Linked DNA regions of Homo sapiens: region 1 is linked to region 2. The links are contacts of gene promoters, found by promoter capture Hi-C in human tissues and cell types (Jung and others, 2019). All regions are on one chromosome and are shown on one strand. Each heading gives the region's core, a stretch centred on a gene start or on the middle of the fragment in contact. The rest is flanking DNA. Distances are from core to core; before and after follow the strand shown.

The links. Contacts are between HindIII fragments. The study calls those that stand out against the background at their distance.
Region 1: a fragment that was not itself captured here is called in contact with the fragment with the promoter of TRAF1 in region 2 in 2 of the 25 tissues and cell types used here (dorsolateral prefrontal cortex and hippocampus).

The regions. Positions count from the first base shown.
Region 1 is chr9:120,585,259-120,589,313 of GRCh38, reverse strand. No RefSeq gene overlaps it. Among named protein-coding and RNA genes, the nearest start is that of CDK5RAP2, 7.1 kb to the right of the region's middle. The HindIII fragment of the contact is 7,435 bases long and covers 1-4,055 here.
Region 2 is chr9:120,924,111-120,928,144 of GRCh38, reverse strand. It overlaps TRAF1 (TNF receptor associated factor 1), which reads left to right and starts at 1,349. Exons shown (of 8, transcript NM_005658.5): 1 at 1,349-1,595; 2 at 1,844-2,209. The coding sequence starts at 2,070. RefSeq lists enhancers at 1,071-1,390, 1,731-2,070, 2,531-2,600, 2,197-2,720. The HindIII fragment of the contact is 9,494 bases long and covers 1-4,034 here.

The DNA.
Region 1 (4,055 bases), core at 1,131-3,630, 340 kb after region 2:
AACCCCATCTCTACTAAAAAATACAAAATATTAGCCGGGTGTGGTGGCAGCGCCTGTAGTCCCAGCTACTTGGGAGGCTGAGGCAGGAGAATGGCGTGAACCCAGGAGGCGGAGCTTGCAGTGAGGGGAGATCGCGCCACTGCACTCCAGCCTGGGCGATAGAGTGAGACTCCGTCTCAAAAAATAAAAAATAAAAGAACAGTGATTTCCTGAGGGGGAAGGGAGATTGACTTGGACTGTAACACCAAGGAACCTTGTGGGGTGATGGAAATGTTTCACATCTATGCTAATACAGTAACCACTAGCCCCATGTGGCTATTTAAATTTTAATTAAGATAAACATTTTAAAAATTCAATTCCTCAGTCACATAGCTACATTTCCAGGGTTCAATAGCCACAAGTGGCTAGTGGCTATTGTATTGGACAGTGCAGATTTAGAATACTGTATTTCCATCATCCAAGAAAGTTCTGTTGGAGAGTCGTGTTCTACCTCTCTCTCTCTCTTTTTTTTTTTTTTTTGAGACTGGATCTTGCTCTGTTGCCCAGGCTGGAGTGCAGTGGTGTGATCTCAGCTCACTGCAACCTCCACCTCCTGGGTTCAAGAAGTGATTCTCCTATCTCAGCCTCTGGAGTAGCTGGGATTACAGGCACACAACACCATGCCCAGCTAATTTTTGTATTTTTAGTAGAGATGGGGTAACACCACTTTGGCCAGGCTGGTCTTGAACTTCTGGCCTCAAGTGATCTGCCCGCCTCAGCCTCCCAAAGTGCTAGGGTTATAGGCATGAGCCACCGCGTCCAGTCTGCTATTCTGTATCTCTTGATTCTGATGATGGCTACATGAGTATGTAAGTTTGCCAAAACTCACCAGAATGTATACTTGAAGTGGGTACACCTATTTTGTGTAAATTCTATCTCAATAAAGTTGATTTAAAATATTAACATTGGCCAGGTGTGGTGGCTCATGCCTGTAATTCCAGCACTTTGGGAGGCCGAGGTGGGCAGAACACCTGGGTTGGGAGTTCAGGACCAGTCTGGCCACTACAGTGAAACGCTGTTTCTACTAAAAATACAAAAATTAGCTGGGCATGGTGGCGCACACCTGTAGTCCCAGCTACTTGGGAGACTGAAGCAGGAGAATGGCTTGAACCTGGGAGGCGGAGGTTGCAGTGAGCCGAGATTGTGCCACTGCACTCCAGCCTGGGCTGCAAGAGTGAAATTCTGTCTCAAAAAATAAAATGAAATGAAAATAAAATATTGACATTGCCTCTCCTGGCCTCAAGGAGTTCACACTGTGGCAGCCAAGTTAACAATTACAGAGCTAAATGTCACAATGATGATAAGCTCAGGGTATGCTGGGAGTCCAGAGGTGGGACATCTACCCAAACTGGGTCCCAAAACTTTCTCTTAAACTGTTGTTCAGAGGACCCTAGGACTCACAGAGAAGGGGAAGGAAGCATATTTTAGACTCTAAGAGTCACTGGCATGTATAGTTCTTTTGTGTGAATTAGAAAAAAGGCATCCCTGCTTTGGGATAAACTCACAGCTTGTCCAGCACAGCACGGACTCAATTTCAGCCTCCACTCCTCCTTTGGGTGGATGTGCTTGTGTAGGGCACAGCCTGTGCAGTGTACTTGGTGGCATGTCACACACACAGGAGGACACATGCAAGGAAAAGGGGACTGTCATTTATCCCTTTAAGGAAGGAGGCACTGCAGCTGCCACAAGTGTTGTGTTCATCCTTCTCTAGTTCCTGCTCTGTGCTCTCAATGTGAATTCACTGCATTTAAGGGAGATGCAAAGTTTACCGTCCCCTCCTGCAAGTCACAAGACATTAAGTACTTCTTTTAATCTGCAAAATGTCCAGACAGTTGATTAATTCAATTACCCTTCTCTGCTTAGAGCTATTGCTGCTTTACATATTCAATGTGCAGCTGGAGAGGGTGCTTGAAAGCACTCTCTGGCATCCTAGGATAATTTTTCCAGCAGCTTTTAGATCTCTGTTAGCCAGACCCTGGATTTAAGTGGGTGGGGATGTGGCCATCGTACTGAGGATGATCAATTTAGGTAGGAGATCTTGCCGTGGGACATATCTCTGGCTCCTGCAAGTTTCAAAAAGCTCAGGAACCACCTTTTGTGAATCAGGAAATGGAGGTCCAAGCTCCTCTCTGTCACTAGCTTGCTGTGTGACTTTGGGAAAATCGGTTCATGTCTCTGAGTCTCAATTTCCTTATCAGTAGAAGAATGATAACAAACTTGTCTTAGAGCTGTTGTGAGGTAGAATCAAGGGATGAAGAATGTGACATGGGCTTTTTAAATAGTTGCATCAAGTAGGGATTTTATTTGATCTCTGTTGGCCTTCAAACATGAGGAGCTAGTGCACATAATAGTATGTACAGGTTTTTATCCTGCTTTTGCAGGGCATAGGTCTTACTTGTAAAACAGCCTTCCCCAACTGCTCAATCAGAATGACTCAATCCCTTCTGTGATCCTAGAATCTCACTGTTCTTTTTCTTTTTCTTTTCTTTTTTTTTTTTTTTTTGAGATGGAGTCCTGCTCTGTCACGAGGCTGGAGTGCAGTGGCACGATCTCTGCTCACTGCAACCTCCACCTCCCAGGTTCAAGCGATTCCCCTACCTCAGCCTCCTGAGTAGCTGGGACTACAGGTGCGTGTCACCACACCCGGCTAATTTTTTTTGTATTTTAGTAGAGACGGGGTTTCTCCACGTTGGCCAGGATGGTCTCGATCTCCTGACCTTGTGATCCACCTGCCTCGGCCTCCCAAAGTGCTGGGATTACAGGCGTGAGCCACCGTGCCCAGCCCTGTTATCTTTCTTATACCAACAAAGTATTTAAAATGTTTTGCTTTGTTTCATAATTATGTATGTGCATTTTCACCAGCTTCTTGAGGACAGGTATTCAGTGAAAGGCACTACGGCCTAGTGGTTAAGAACATGGGCTTTTGGATGAATTCTGGGTTCAAATCCTGTCTTCACAACTGAGCTACTTGGATGGTGTCGGGGCAAAACTTTCCTTTAACCTGTCTGGTTCAGTACCTGAGGGTTCTGTGTATTAAATGGACAAAAGACAGATTAACAGGAGAAAAGGCATATTAATTTTTATTAATAGTTATGTGCACAAGAGTTCATAGAAAAGAAGTGAAACTCAAATAAGTGGTTAGGCTCAAGGGCTTTTATCCCATTATAGCAAAAGAAGGGAGTGTTGAGCTTCAAGGCTGATAAATCATGGGGAAGTGATTAGGGAATATATGGGGGAAACTAATGGTAGACAGGGAGGAGGCACATGTTCACAAAGGGGAATTTATGTCCTGCTTCAGGGTAGAAAAGGAGAAGGCAGAAAATTCTTTCTGCATCTGTTGATTCTCAATTGTCTTCAGCTCAAAATAATCCTTATGCAAAAGGGGCATATGTTGGGATGGCATATTTTGATCCCCTTCAATGGCCAGGCAACTCTTTCTTCTCTTTGTACTTCAGTTTTGTCAACCATAAAGTTGGAGCATAATCAGTTCTTGTTTCATAAGGTTATTGTGAGGATTGAATGCAAAGTATATAACACAGTACCTGGCACATAGAAAGAGCTTAATATATGGTAGCTAATTTTAGTTATTCATGGAACATCACAGCTGAAGGGGCCTCAATGTTGTAGTGTAATGCACTCAGCATACAGATAAGAAAATAGGCCCAGAGAGTTGAACTGGGAGATTGGTATTAACCTTATATTATGTTGATGTGTGTTACCATCCCTAGTCCAATAATCTATATTCTATTCCTTTGATATTTGGTATTTCTCATTCCACTTTCCATCTTGAGAAAAAGTCAGGACTTGGAGTTAATTTGACAAACTGGCATTGAGCATCTACTATGTGCACAGCCTGGGGCTACATGTTGGGCCCAGAAGGCATCACTGACTTGATCACCCTGCTCTTCAGAGAAGGCAGTGGGTACTAATTGAGAACTGGTCCTAATAAGGACTGCTGGTGTTGAGGGTTGGTTGGTAAGAGGTCTTGGGAGCAAGGGGGCAGATGTGTCTGCCAG
Region 2 (4,034 bases), core at 100-2,599:
GTAAGGTGGGGATGATGATGGCAATACCTGCTTCACAGAGTGAAAATTAGATGAGATGATGTCTGTAAAATTACGTAAGACGGTACCCAAAAGTAGTACTATTTTTCCCTTTTCTTATTAGAGCAGGTTGCGCACGTTTTGATGTCCGTGGGAATGAGCAGGTAGAGAGGGTGGTATTGAGGCCGGAGGGGAGAGAAGGGACCCACAGATGGGGAGAGAAGTCTTGGGTGCCTGTTTTATCCCAAACCAGGGGAAGGAGGGAACAGGTAGGGCTGGCTGCAGGAAAGCTTGCAGGTATGGGGTACACAGTTAAAAGGGAGTGTCTTCTGATAGTCTTGATGCAGGCCTGGAGGTCGTTTGTTATGGGGGTGGAGGTCCTGATGTACATTGTGGCGGTAAGATGCCGTGCTGTCTTTGCCACCAGCCTGTGGCAGCCCTGGTGTTACACCAGGGCAGGTGGGCAGTTTAATGTATCTCAGGCCAGATGACCTGCCCTGCCCACCTGTTGAGGCTCCAGTAGATAGACGTGAAAGCACAGTATAAGCATAATGCACCACTTTAATCCTTTTCTCTGAGGAGCTGGAAGGCCTGTAGTCACCATCTGAGCCAAATGTCATTCAAGTACTTCACTTGGGTTACACACCACACTTTGACCCACTATCTCATTTAGTCATCACAACAAATGGGTGAAATAGGTATTATTGTCCCATTTTACAGATGCAGAATCTGAGTTTCAGGGAAGTTAAGGACTTTGTCCCAGGGCCCACAGTTAGTAAGCAGTGGACCCAGGATTTCAACTCAGCTCTGTCTGACCTCAAAACCCATGATCTGAAACCACTGTGAAAGTTTGCAAAACCTCTGTAGCAGCCAAGCAGGATGGAAAGATGTGTAGGGATTGTCTTCTCCATTTGATAGATGAGACAAGAGCTGGGTACTCTGATCTCCATCCCAAGCACACAGAGCTTGGGGCCCCACAGCCCTGGTGTGAATCCCACTCCACTACCAGAGGCTGTGTGCCTTTGGACCAGGCATCTTGCTTCTCTGACCCTATATACAGCTGCAGAAGAATTCCTTGCAGGTTGCTGTAAGGATTTGGAGGGAAACTGTTGCCCAGCACACAGTACACATTCTGGGAGCCATCGTTTCCCCAGTGCACTTTTCCTGCAAATGTGGATCTACATCCCACTTGGATGCTGAGACCAGCTGCTGTGATCTTGCATTTGTTTAGCGCTTTGTTCTCCTTGAGGCAGTAAAGTGGTGGCACCTGACCGGAGCATGTAGCCACCTATGACTTCCTGAGTGGGGTGGTGTGGGGAGGGCCCTGAGGAGTCTGTGGTCCTAGGCCTTGGATTTCATCAGGGCTTTCCTGCTCCTTCTGGTTGCCTCAGTCCCAGGCAAGATAGGGTCCCAGAATCTTACAGCCCAGAGGCCACCTGTTGCAACTTCTTTTTTACAGATGGAGTCATCAGAACCCACTGTGAGGAAGTGACTTCTCCTTGAGGTCACCCAGACACTCCAAACAGAGCAGAGCAAAAGCGCCTAGAACTTGAAATTTTGGACCTGTCTCCAACACCCTGGGGATTTCCACCAGGAAGGTGAGCACCCCCACTGAGAATTCCAGGCTGCTCAGAGGTGCCAGGGAACACAGACCAGGGACCAGCTGTGGCCCCCTCCTCCGATGTGCCCAGGGAAGTGGGGGAAGCCAGCGGCAGCCTGCGATTCTCAACCAGGGGAACTCTCACTGTGCTTTCTGAGAGTCTGTGACACGGGTCATTTTCTCTGACTTGCTCTCTTGCTTTTTCTCACTCTAAAAAAAAAAAAAAATGACTGGACACTCCTAAAGCCTTCAGTCACCATCCAGGGGATTTTTATCGCCACAAAGGGTAATTCCTGCTCCATCCCTGCTGTGACTCAGCTGTGACGTTGAACCACACAAGCCAGAGAGAAGAAGATAAAGTCATCAGAGCTCCTACTCACCAGAGAGTGAGGCCCAGGCCAGGACTCCACAAGGCTGGTCCCCTGCCCTGGAGCAACTTAAACAGGCCCTCTGGCCAGCCTGGAACCCTGAGATGGCCTCCAGCTCAGGCAGCAGTCCTCGCCCGGCCCCTGATGAGAATGAGTTTCCCTTTGGGTGCCCTCCCACCGTCTGCCAGGACCCAAAGGAGCCCAGGGCTCTCTGCTGTGCAGGCTGTCTCTCTGAGAACCCGAGGTGAGGTGATGGAGGAGCGGAGGGTGGGCAGAAAGTGGGTGCCAGGGAGGGACCCCTGATGGGAGGTGAGGGGCAGAGGAGCCTGTGACTTCAGGCGGTGACTTTTCTTCTCTGGGCCTCAGTTTCCACACCCTTTTCTCACACTCCCTGACACTGCCCCTCTGGCTGTGGTGGAAGGAGAGGAAGCCACAGAAAGGCATCAGCTCCCACAGGGGAAAGCCATCCACACCGAGGAGAGCCTCGAGGCTGTGAGGCCACTGTCTCACTGTGTGGTCTGGTGCTCTGCTAATGTCCCTAAGCCGCAGCTCGCTTGTCTGTAAAGCTGTTTTCTGTGTCATAGAATTGTTAATGAAGCCCAATGAATAATAATCACAAAAGTCCTTATAATAACAAATATAAACCTCTTGGTGAATGACAAACTGTTAGACGAATATCTCTCCTTCCACAGCATTGCTCATCACCTCAGACCGTTTGCTGGGAACCCTTTTGGAGGGGACAAAGAGATCGATATATATTTGTGTATTTAATGATACTTAAAATATTAACAACCCAGAAAGGCATGATATCAGTACTATTGTGGACATCCCTCTTTAAGCAATTATGCACCTACTGTGTGCCAAATGCTCTGCCCTTGGGTCCTCAGCACAACTTAGAGGGGTGGATACTATTATGATCCTATTTTACAAATGAGAACACTGAGGCCTAACAGATTAGGTCAGCTTTGGTCAGTTTCCTGGCAAATATGCCCTTAAACTATCTCATGTGATGACCTTTTGTTTGCGGTTTTACAGCTTAAGAAGGTGGCAAAGCTGAATCAGGCAAGTGAGAAGTTCAAACATGACGACAAAGGAGGAGGCTGTGAGAATAGCGAGGAGAGGCTGTGGCCGTGGAAAGGCCAGCCAGGAGGTGGAGGAGCAGAGGTTCACTGGTTTTACCATCAAGCGGATTGTCAGGGTTCAGCTCAGGCTCTGGTAGTGGGTCTCCTGGTTTCCCCTCTCCCTCCTTCCAAAACCTGGCAGAGGAGGGAGCTGATTGGAAGTTGGAGGGCTGAGGCCTGAGGCCTAAGTCCTGAAGAGCTTCTACTCAGCTCTGCTCCTGACTCACTCTACCTTGACCAATCCACATGCCCTCTGGGGCCTCATTCCCTCACTTGTAAAATAGACTATCTCGGTAGCGGTAGCAGGTCAGAGACACCAGGAGCTTTGTAAAAACACAGTTGCTGGCCAGGCGCAGTGGCTCATGCCTGTAATCCCAGCACTTTGGCAGGCCGAGGCAGGAGGATCACTTGAGGTCAGGAGTTTGAGACCAGCCTGGCCAACAAGGTGAAACCTCATCTCTACTAAAAATACAAGAATTAGCTGGGTGTGGTGGTGTGCACCTGTAATCCCAGCTACTTGGGAGGCTAAGGCATGAGAATCACTTGAACCTGGGAGGCAGAGGTTGCAGTGAGCTGAGATCGCACCACTGCACTCCAGCCTGGGCTACAGAGTAAGACCCTGTCTCAAAAAAAGAAAAACCCCCAAAAAACAGACAAAAAACCCACGGGTACCCAGGTGTTACCCATTAGAATCTGACACCCATTCCTGATTAAGAACCTCTAGGACAGATGTTCTCTGAGGCCCTTTCTTGTTCTAATAGGCCATGATCCTCTGTAATTACTAAACATATAAGACCAAAACCAAATGGAGGACCAAATGAGAAGAGCAAATATAGTCACATGTCAGCAATCTTTTGCCTAAACCCCTGAGATCAGATGTGTTTTGTAATTCAGAATTTTTTTTAGAAAAGCAAATCAGGGCATCATGTAATTGTGGCAGGGAATGCG